Linked DNA regions of Homo sapiens: regions 1, 2 and 4 are each linked to region 3. Evidence: promoter capture Hi-C in 16 types of primary human blood cells and fetal thymus (Javierre and others, 2016). All regions are on one chromosome and are shown on one strand. Each heading gives the region's core, a stretch centred on a gene start or on the middle of the fragment in contact. The rest is flanking DNA. Distances are from core to core; before and after follow the strand shown.

Region 1 (2,874 bases), core at 158-2,657, 330 kb after region 3:
GGTCTTGATTGCTGGTGAAATGGAGGAATCTCTGGAAGTTCACTTTGGACCCTTTTGTGGTTACCAAAATGTTAACCTAAAATAATCAGGAATGTTTATTTTATTCAAGTTGCTTTTTCAAGAGAGTTTATTCAAGCACAAAGCTTAAGGATATCTACCCTGGAGTATAGATTCAAGTTGATTGAATGATTTCAAATTCAAATCATAATTTGTATGATATAAATTACACACTCCAATTAGCAATAGTTACAAGGGAATTTTTGAGGAAAAAAGAAGAGGCAGCTCCCAAATTTTTAAATTTATTTTTATTTATTATTTATTTATTTTTGAAACAGAGCCTCTCTCTGTCGCCCAGGCTGGAGTGCAGTGGTGTGATCTCGGCTCACTGTAACCTCCACCTCCCAGGTTCAGGTGATTCTTCTGCTTCAGCCTCCCAAGTACCCGGGACTGCAGGCACACACCACCACACCTGGCTAATTTTTGTATTATTAATAGAGACGGGGTTTCACCATATTGGCAAGGCTGATCTCGAACTCCTGACCTCATGATCCGCCCATCTCGGCCTCCCAAAGTGCTGGGATTACAGGTGTAAGCCACCATGCAAATTGTTTACCAAACATAACATAATTTATTGATTGGCTGTACATTGTTCTTTGTATCAAAAATTTCAGAAACATGAGTATAATGGGTGGGTCAGCTATTAAGGAACAAAAATGACTTTAAACAGTTGTCCCTGGGCATGGGTGTTAGGGGTAGAACTGAAGCCCCATACTCATGTCTCTCTGGGCCTAGTAAATTTTGCATAGCTCAGACTGTTCTGAGCTATTCTTTTTCTTTTCTCAATAGTAACAACTTAAAATCACAGAATTAACACTAACAAATAAGCTTAAGAGTAACAGTCTTAGAATCCGGTTTCAAATGTGTCTACAATTTATTTTATAATTTCATCTCATTTTAGAGTTGGAGGTACATGTGCAAGTTTGTTACATGGGTAACATGTTTGTTACATGGTGTGATGCTGAGGTTTAGAGCATGAATGATCCCATCACCCAGGTAGTGAGCATAGTATCCAGTAGGTAGATTTTTAGCCTTTGCCCCCAACCAAGTAACCCCCCAGTGTCTATTATTCCCATCTTGTCCATGTGTACCCAATGTTTAGCTTCCATGTATAAGAGAGGATATGTGGTATTTGATTTTCTGTTCCTGGATTAGTTCGGATAATGGCTCCAGCTGTATCCATCTTACTGCACAAGACATGAGCATTAGTCAGTTTTCACGCTGCTATGAAGAAATACCTGAGACTGGGTAATTTATAAAGAGAAGAGATTTAATTGACTCACAGTTCCAAATGGCTGGGGAGGACTCAGGAAACTTACAATTATGGCAGAGGCGCCTCTTCACAGGGTGGCAGGAGAGAGAATGAGTGCCAAGCTAAGAGGGAAGCCCCTTATAAAACAATCAGATCTCGTGAGAACTCAGTATCACAAGAACAGCATGGAGGGGAACTGCCCTCATGATTTAATTACTTCCCACTGGGTCCCTCCCATGACATGTGGGGATTATGGGATTACAGCTCAAGTGGAGATTTGGGTGGGGACACAAAAAACCCATATCCTTCTTCTCCTGGCCCCTCCCAAATCTCATGTCTTCACATTTCAAAACACAATCATGCCCTTTCCAACAGTACCCCAAAGTCTAAGCTCATTCCAGCATTAACCCAAAAAAGCAAGTCCAAAGTCTCATCTGAGACAAGACAAGCCCCTTCCACCTATGAGCCTGTAAAATTAAAAGCAAGTTAGTTACATCCTAGATAAAATGGAGGTACAGGCATTGGGTACATACACCTGTTCCAAATAAGAGAAAGTGGCCAAAATAAAGGGGCTACAGGACCTATGCAAACCCAAAATCCAATAGGGCAGTCAAAGCTTAAAATTCCAAAATAATCTCCTTTGACTCCATGTCGCACATCCATGTCATGCCGATGCATGAGGTGGGCTCCCACAGCCTTAGCAGCTCCACTCCCAGGGCTTTGCAGTTTACAGCCTCTCTCCTGGCTGCTTTCATGGGCTGATGTTGAGTGCCTGTGGCTTTTCCAGGCACATGGTGCAAGCGGACAATATATCTACCATTCTGGGGTCTGGAGGATGATGGCCCTGTTCTCACACCTTCACTAGGCAGTGCTCCATTGGGGACTCTGATGGGGCTACCAGCCCCAAACTTACCTTCTTCACTGCCCTAGCAGAGGTTCTCTGTGAAGGCTCTGCCCCTGCAGCAGGCTTCTGCGTGAACATCCAGGGATTTCCATACATCCTCTGAAATCTAGGTGGAGGTTCCCCAACCTCAATTCTTGTCATCTTTGCACCCACAGGACAAACACCACATAGAAGCTGTGAAGGCTTTGGGGCTCGCACGCTCTGAAGCAATGGCCTGAGCTGTACTTTGGCTCCTTTTAGCCATGGCTAGAGCTGAAGCAGCTGGGATGCAGAGCCCCTGTCCCAAGGCTGCATGGAGCAGGGGGGCCCTAGGTCCCTACAAAACCATTTTTCCCTCCTAGGCCTCCAGGCCTGTGATGGGAGGGTCTGCTGTGAAGGTTTCCGAGATGCCCTGGAGATAATTTTCCTCATTATCTTGGTGATTAATATTTAAATCCTCATTACTATGCAAATTTCTGCAGCTGGCTTGAATTTCTCCCCAGAAAATGGGGCTTTCTTTTCTATGGCATTGTCAGGCTGCAAATTTTCCAAACTTTTATGCTCTGCTTCCTCTTGAATGCTTTGCCCCTTAGAAATTTCTTCCACTAGACACCCTAAATTATCTCTCTCAAGTTCAAAGTCCCACAGATCTCTAGGGCAGGGACAAAATGCCACCAGTCAC
Region 2 (2,700 bases), core at 2-2,501, 310 kb after region 3:
ATGCCAAAGAAATTTCTTCAGTCTGAAAAGAGAAAAACGCAAATGTGCAAAAAAGAAAACATCTAAAGTTATAAAACTCATTGGTAAAAATAAGCCAACAGACAAACTCAAAATTTTGTAACTGTAGTATGCAGTCCACTTATCACTTTAGTGTGATGACTAAAAGACAAATCTATGAAAAACAAAAGTATCTACAGAAACCTGTTAAGAGAGAAGAAATACAAAGATACATAAAGTGACACAATGAAATTCAAAATGGGGAGAAGATGAAGTGTAGAGCTTTCTTAGTTTATATTATTTTCTTTGTGATCAAAGTCATCACTTTAAGATATTTTTGTAATCTTCATAATCACAGAGCAAAATTTTCTAATAAATACACTGAAAATAAAAAAGCAACAAATTAAAACACAGTACCATAGAAAATTAACCACGAAGAAGAGACAGTGAGAAAGAGAGGAGTTACAAAACAACAAAGATACAAATCACAAAACGACAATAGTACTTATTTATCAGTACTTATTTATCAAAAGAATGAACTCATTTTTTCAATTGAAAGACATTGAGTGGATGAATGAATAAAGAAACGAGATTCATATATACACTACCTACAACGAACCGATTTCATCAATAAAGACATGTATAAACTGAAAATGAAAGGATGAGAAAAAATTCCATGCGAATGGAAACCAAAAAAGAGCAGGAGTAGCAATATTTATATCATATAAAATAGACCACAAGTAAAATGTAAACAGAGATAAAGAAGGTCACTATATGATGATAAAGGGGTCAATTTCGAACACCCCAGTGGAGAAGCTGAGGTCAACATCAGATTTGAAATATTTAAGGTGGATACAAAACTATTTCAGCAATGCAGACAATTAAGTGTGGTGTTGTGGGCGATGGTGCTATTGGTAAAACAAGTCTCCTGATATCCTACACAACAAACAAATTTCCATCAGAACATATGCTGACTGTTTTTGACAACTATGCAGTCACAGTTATGATTGCTGGAGAACCATATACTCTTGGGCTTTTTGATACTGCAGGGCAAGAGGATTATGACAGATTACTACTACTGAGTTATCCACAGACAGATGTATGTCTAGTCTGTTTTTCAGTGGTCTCTCCATCTTCATTTGAAAATGTGAAAGAAAAGTGGGTGCCTGAGATAATTTGCCACTGTCCAAAGACTCCTCTCTTGCTTGCTGGGACCCAAACTGATCTCAGAGATGACTCCTCTATTGAGAAACTTGCCAAGAACAAACAGAAGCCTATCACTCCAGAGCCTGCTGAAAAGCTGGTCCGTGACCTGAAGGCTGTCAGGTATGTGGAGTGTTCTGCACTCACGCAGAAAGGCCTAAGGAACGTATTTGACTAAGCAATATTGGCTGCCCTGGAGCCTCCAGAAAGAAGAGCCGCAGGTGTGTGCTGCTATGAACATCTCTCCAGAACCCTTTCTGCACAGCTGGTGTTGGCATCATACTAAAAGTAATGTTTAAATCAAACTAAAGATTAAAAATTAAAAAAATTTTTTGCAATAATGACAAATGCCCTGCACCTACCCACATGCACTCGTGTGAGACAAGGCCCATAGGTATTAAGGTGCCATCTAGTATGCCCCCTTCCCCCTCCGAGTACTAGTTAATTTTGAGTAATTGTGTATTGTCAGAAAAGTGATTAGTACTAGTTTTTGTTTTGTAGTTTGAAAAAAATTTTTTGTTTGTTTAAAAGCAAGACATACAGACTAATTGGAATTGTTGAAGCTGCTCCCTGGTTCCACTCTGGAGAGTAATCTGGGACATCTTAGTGTTTGGGGTTTTTTTTTCTCCTCTTCTTTTCAAGGACTGTATGTGGGGTTTTTTAGTCTTGTTTTTTTTACTTAATTAACCAGTGGATAGCCCTTAAGGGGAGGAGGATGGATTGATTCCCCCTTCCACTTTCTAGATCTAGTTTAGAAAACATATTCCCCATCTGGTGCTCTTAGGAAGGAGTATAGTAAATGCCTCATTTAATAACATACTCCTTTTTGAAAGTTGCCCGTTCTCTCCACCCTGGAGTAGGTCCAGTATTTGATGAAACTCATGAAAGTGGGTGGAGCCTGTCTAGTCCCGCCTCTTTTCTAGGACACACTATATGTGATTGTGACTTTCAAGGACATTTGTTTGCCATTTGCTGATTTTTGGGGGAAGTTAATTTCTAACTTCTTTCACTGATAAATGAAGAAAAGTATTGCACCTTTGAAATACACCAAATGAATTGAGTTTGTAATTTAAAAAAGTTTTTCCCTGTCAAAAAAAGGGGGTCAATTTACCAAGAAGATATAACAGTTATAAATATATATTCAAAGCAAGAGCACCCAAGTACATAAAGCAAACATTAATATATCTAAACAGAGAGAAAAACTGCAATATATCAATGGTAGGGTACTTCAACACTCTTGAGGAAGGAACAGATTATTCTGACAGAAAATCAGCAACAACCACAAAATTGGAGTTAAGCTACACACTTGACCAAATGAGTCTGACATTTACAGAACATGTCACTCAATTGCTTCAGAGTACATATAATTCTCATCAGCATGTGAAACATTCTCCAGGCCTATATAATAGGATACAAAATAATCCTTAACAAATGCAAAAAAAAGTCAAAATTATATCAAGTTTTTTTTTAACCACAAGAGAAAAGAACTTGACAACAATA
Region 3 (2,950 bases), core at 32-2,531:
CTCATATTCTGGTGGTTATGATGCCACATGAATTTTGTCACAAGAACTGTCCAGGTTAGTCCAGAAACAGTTTTTTTCTTTTTCGTTCCCCCCTCCACCCAGAAACAGTTTTGTTTTGTTTTTTTTTAGATGTAGTCTCTCTCTGTCGCCCAGGCTGGAGTGCGGTGGTGCGATCTTGGCTCACTGCAAACGCCGCCTCCTGGGTTCACGCCATTCTCCTGCCTCAGCCTCCCGAGCAGCTGGGACTACAGGCGCCCGCCACAACGCCCGGCTAATTTTTTTGTATTTTTAGTAGAGATGGAGTTTCACCGTGTTAGCCAGGATGGTCTTGATCTCCTGACCTCGTGATCCGCCCGCCTCGGCCTCCCAGAGTGCTAGGATTACAGGCGTGAGCCACCGCGCCCGGCCATATGTATTTTTCTTTAGATGAAGTTTAGTTCTTTCGCCCAGTCTGGAGTGAAGTGGCGCGATCTCGGCTCACTGCAACCTCCGCCTCCCGGGTTCAAGCGATTCTTCTCCCTCAGCCTCCCGAGTAGCCGGGACTACAGGCCCGCACCACCACGCCGAGCTAATTTTTGTATTTTTAGTAAAGACAGAGTTTCACCATGTTGGCCAGACTGGTCTCGAACTCCTGACCTCAGGTGATCCGCCCGCCTCAAGCCTCCCAAAGTGCTGGGATTAAGAGGCGTGAGCCACCGCGCCCGGCTTGAATCACCATTTCAGAGATGCTTACACGTTCCCCACTACCCAACCTCTCATCTTTACAGCGCTTACAAAGCGGTAACTTTAACTTCGCCAAGCCTCACGTTCCCCTTCTGCAAAATGGGCAGGCCTATTTCGCAGGAGTGCTTTGAGAATTTGACCCACAGAACGCTCAATACCACGGACAAACGCTGGACGTTACTGGTCCCTTATCTCTCTCCACCCCGCTGGGTCGCCTCTCCCCACAGGCTCAGTGCCCAGGTAGCACTCGGCGGGGCCGCCGCGGTGTCCCCCTCCCCGGCCCAGCGACGGATGACTTGGGCTGCTTTTGAGATCAGTTCACAAGCCATTCCACCAGGCTTCGGAAAGGTTGGGGTGATTCGTGCCCTCGCCCCAGACAACCCCGAGGTCAGACGAAGCGATTCGCTCTCAGGGCTCTCACGCGAGGGTGCCTTGGGTCCCCAGCAAATCCTCCCCCGGCAGCAATACCCCGGAGCCTGCCCTCACCTCCACCACGAGACTCACCTCCGCCAAGACTATGCAGCCACCTGCCCCGGGGAGCGCCGGTCGCAGCGGGATGGCGTCACGCCGTACGCATTGGCTCAGTCCCACACTACCCCTCTCGTAGGCCGTGCATCTCCTTAGCCGTGGGCGGAGTTAAAGGCAGGACCCCGCCCACTCTCCCTTAAAGGGACCCGCGGCGGTGGCGGGGTCGGGGGCGCTGACCTCTGGTTTCCTAACGCGCGCAGCTAGTGGACAGTGGCGCAGGAGGTTTCGGACTTTTCTTTCATTCTTTTGTTTTGTTTCTTTTTTTTTTTTTTTTTTTTGAGACGGAGTCTCGCTCTGTCGCCCAGGCTGGTGTGCAGTGGCGCGATCTCTGCTCACTGCAACCTCTGCCTCCCGGGTTCAAGCGATTCTTCTGCCTCAACCTCCCAAGTAGCTGGGATTACAGGCGTGCACCACCATGCCCAGCTAATTTTTGTATTTTTAGTAGAGACAGGGTTTCACATGTTGGCCAGGCTGGTCTCGAACTCCTGGCCTTAAGTGATCCAACCACTTTGGCCTTTCAAAGTGTTGGAATTACAGGCGTGAGCCACCGTGCCTGGCCTAAAAGTGTTTTTTTTTTTTTTTTTTTTGAGACAGGGTCTCACTCTTGTTGCCCAGGCTGGAGTGCAGTGGCATGATCTTGACTCACTGCAACCTCTGCCTCCTGGGTTTAAGGGATTCTCCTGCCTCAGCCTCCTGAGTAGCTGGGACTACAGGCATCTGGCACCACGTCCAGCTAATTTTTTTTATTTTTAGTAGAGACGGGATTTCACCATGTTGGCCAGGCTGTTCTTGAACTCTTGGCCTCAAGTGATCCACCTATTTCGGACTCCCAAAGTTCTGGGATTACAGGCATGAGCCACTGTGCCTGGCTGGTCCAGATTTACCTATACTTTCCCTGACCAGTTATTGTATCAGAAGTTTTTCAAACGAAAAATATCAGTGGGGAGTGGTACTTAGCAACAAAGCTCTGAGTGCTAGGTGAGCAACTTGCTACTGGGATTTTCCTGCCTGTAGGCTATTTCAGCAGATGTAGCTATCGATACATTGAAACATACACACACGCACACACACACCTACCTTTAAACAGCAGTGGGTTTCTTTCTTTTTTGGGACGGAGGCTGTCTCTGTCGCCCAGGCTGGAGTGCACTGGCGCGATCTCGGCTCACTGCAAGCTCCGCCTCCCGGGTTCACGCCATTCTCCTGCCTCAGCCTTCCGAGTAGCTGGGACTACAGGCGCCTGCCACCAGGCCGGCTAATTTTTTGTATTTTTTTTAGTGGAGACGGGGTTTCACCGTGTAAGCCAGGATGGTCTCGATCTCCTGACCTCGTGATCCGCCCGTCTCGGCTTCCCAAAGTGCTGGGATTACAGGCATGAGCCACCAGTGGGTTTCTTCTTTTGCTTCACCAGTTCCGTATTTTTATCTCCTTTCTTCCACAGTTAGAACTCTGGTCCCTACCCCGACAACATCAATGATTAATGCTAAATCCTATAGTATACACTATATGCTTTTGGAGTTGTACTAACAATATCCCGACTAAAAACAAACTTTCTAAGTGATGCGTGAGATTATTTTTTGTGGTTCTTTTTGTCCTTAGAGTGTACAATGACAGCACTGTGTTCAACATTTCTTGGGATTCTTTTTTTTTCTTCTGTGTGGTTGTAACAATATTCTATACAATTAGATTTTTTTTTTTTTTT
Region 4 (2,700 bases), core at 177-2,676, 290 kb after region 3:
CCTCCCAAAGTACTGGGATTACAGGTGTGAGCCACCGTGCCCAGCCTCCCTTAAGAATTTTTTATAACACTTCTAGCAGTAATGAATTTTCTTAGAATTTGCTTTTCTGAAAAAGTTTTGTTTTTCTCCTTTACTAATGAAGCTTGGATTGGCAGGATATGAGATTCTTGGTTGAAATGACTTTTCTTTTAGGATGCTGAAAATAGGTTCTCACTTTGTTCTGATGTGTAAGATTTTTGTTGAAAAATCCACTGTTAGCCTAATGGAGTTCCCATGGTATGTCATCTGACCCTTTCTCTACCTGCCTTTAAGATTTTTCTTTCAGCTGGGTGTAGTGGCTCATGCCCGTAATCCAAGCACTTTGGGAGGCCGAGGCGGGTGGATTGCCTGAGGTCAGGAGTTCATGACCAGCCTGGCCAACGTGGCAAAACCCCGTCTCTACTAAAAATACAAAAATTAGCTGGGCGTGGTGGCGGGTGCCTGTAATCTCAGCTACTTGGGAGGCAGTGGGTTGCCTGGGTGGGCTGGTGCTTGGGCCTCCAGGTAGTGTGTGCTGGGATCAGAGGTGGCAGTGGCATGACAGTCCTAAGGACCCTGGGTGGAACTTGTGGTACCTACAATGACAATAGCAGTGAGGGGCCAGACCCTGGGTTGCATGAACGGGCACTAGTAATGGTGACAGCAGTCTGGCTGGGCATTTTCCTGGGCCCTTGTGTGGCACATTTGGGTGGGTTTCTATAGCCATGGGTGGGGCAAGCTTGTTTATGGGTTCACTGAGTGCACATGCAGGAGCCTTTGTCAGTGGCTGGTGGGGCAGCCCTGTCCTCAGGCCCTGGAGGACATGTGTGGGTGCCAGTGGGGCAATGGAATTGTTCTCAGGCCCTTGACAGTGTGTATGGACACTTATAGAAATAGGGATGCCAATCCTCAGGCTCCCAGAATACAGGTACTTGTGGTGATAGTGGTGGATGGGGCAGACTTGTCTTCAGGCCCCAGAATGCACATATAGGCCTGGGTGGGATGGGCTCCTCCTTCAGGCCCTGGACGGCATATGTAGGCACTGGCAGCAATAGTGGCAGTGGCAAGCAAGGTGACCTTGTCTTCAGGCTCCCATATGGCTCACACAGGCACTGCCCCTGGTGGGTTGGGCAGGCTGGCTTTCAGGATTTAGGATGGTGCACATGCGTGAGTCAGTCCTCAGGCCTCCTGAAGGTGTGCACAGGTGTGCAGCAGTGCTGCCGCTGGAGGGGACAGGGTTGCGTTGGTGGTCATGGCCTCAGTCAGGTGGCTCTCAGGCTCTAGGAGCACATACTTAGGATTCCTTTGTCCTAGAGTACCTTTTCTGGTGGGCCGGACCAACTATTTCCAAGGGTGTAGGGTGCTGCAAGGTTAGGGTTTTGGGGACCCAGCCACATCAGGTGTTGTGGGTCCAGCTGGTGCATGATGCCGCAAGTCCTCTCTGTGAATGTTGTGAAATGTCAGCGGTGCTCCACTGAATGTGGAGATGCAGGGGCTGTTGGGTCTCTGGGCAGGATGTAGTCTGGTAGTAGGGGGCGGTTTGGGCTCTTAAACTGATGCTGATTTAGGTGCCACAGCTTCAGTCTCAGGGTGAGTGGGACAGGCTTCCACTAACAGTTTCTTTGAAGCCCTTTCAGTGTTCATTATTCTTCTCTAGGTCTTTTCAGCCTCTACCTAGCTCCTGGCCCAATGGTATCCTGCCAGGTTTTAGTAGTATCTTTTAATGGCAGTAGCCCATATTTAGTGTCAGTATCTGTATCAGTTATCTATTGCTGTGTAATACACCACCTCAAAATTCATTGTCTCAAGACAGTATCTATTTTGTTCACAATTTGCAGTTTTAGGCAAGGCTCAGTGGGGCTATCTCACTTTCTATGGTATCAGATGAAGTGACTTGAAACTTAGACTAGAATCATTGAAAATATTAAAGTCCTGTTGATTTGCCTGTGTGGCAGATGAAGCTGGCTTTTGGCTGGGAAGTGAAGCTGGGGCAGTCAGCTGGAACACCTACATGAGGATTCATCATTTGGCTCAGTCTTCCTTACATTGTGGTGGCTGGATTCTAAGAACAAGCTTCCCTAGAGAGAAAGTCAGGTGGAAGCTGTATTATAATACATTTTCTTATCCAACGTTAGAAGTCACACACAGTTCTGGCTGGGTGCGGTGGCTCACGCCTGTAATCCCAGCACTTTGGGAGGCCGAGGCTGGTGGATCATGAGGTCAGGAGATCGAGACCATCCTGGTTAACATGATGAAACCCTGTCTCTACTAAAAATAAAAAAAAATTAGCTGGGCGTGGTGGTGGGCGCCTGTAGTCCCAGCTACTCGGGAGGCTGAGGCAGGAGAATGGTGTGAACCCTGGAGGTGGAGCTTGCAGAGAGCCAAGATAGCGCCACTGCACTCCAGCCTGGGCAACAGAGCGAGACTCTGTCTAAAAAAAAAAAAAACAAGAAGTCGCACCCAGTTCTGCCATATGATGTTCACTAGTAACCAATTACCAATGCCAGCTTGTATTCAGGAGAGGGAATTTCATGGGAGAAATGTCAAACAATTAGTAGTGGTGCCACTCCACTTACCTTTTTAAAATAAAATAATCATTCCATCTAAAGGAAAATTATTCTTTCCAACTCAGTAGCACTGAAATTTTAGCAAGATCTTTTGTTATCATTGTTTAGTATGCAC

Evidence for each region. Contacts are between HindIII fragments. The CHiCAGO score rates a contact against its expected background, and 5 or more counts as called.
Region 1: a fragment that was not itself captured here is called in contact with the fragment with the promoter of MRPS17 in region 3 in 2 of 17 cell types (naive CD8 T cells and total B cells); the score reaches 7.2 in naive CD8 T cells.
Region 2: a contact is called between a fragment that was not itself captured here and the fragment with the promoter of MRPS17 in region 3, in 17 of 17 cell types (naive CD4 T cells, M2 macrophages, naive CD8 T cells and 14 more). The highest score is 25.5, in naive CD4 T cells.
Region 4: a contact is called between a fragment that was not itself captured here and the fragment with the promoter of MRPS17 in region 3, in 10 of 17 cell types (neutrophils, total CD4 T cells, naive B cells and 7 more). The highest score is 9.4, in neutrophils.

What each region holds. Positions count from the first base shown.
Region 1 is chr7:55,618,763-55,621,636 of GRCh38, reverse strand. No RefSeq gene overlaps it. Among named protein-coding and RNA genes, the nearest start is that of VOPP1-DT, 47 kb to the right of the region's middle. The HindIII fragment of the contact is 1,040 bases long and covers 888-1,927 here.
Region 2 is chr7:55,637,011-55,639,710 of GRCh38, reverse strand. It overlaps the pseudogene CDC42P2. Among named protein-coding and RNA genes, the nearest start is that of VOPP1-DT, 66 kb to the right of the region's middle. The HindIII fragment of the contact is 6,021 bases long and covers 1-2,700 here.
Region 3 is chr7:55,950,208-55,953,157 of GRCh38, reverse strand. It overlaps MRPS17 (mitochondrial ribosomal protein S17), which reads right to left and starts at 1,281. Exons shown (of 3, transcript NM_015969.3): 1 at 1,228-1,281. RefSeq lists an enhancer at 1,169-1,228. The HindIII fragment of the contact is 16,512 bases long and covers 1-2,950 here.
Region 4 is chr7:55,660,763-55,663,462 of GRCh38, reverse strand. It overlaps the pseudogene LOC643348. Among named protein-coding and RNA genes, the nearest start is that of VOPP1-DT, 89 kb to the right of the region's middle. The HindIII fragment of the contact is 1,334 bases long and covers 760-2,093 here.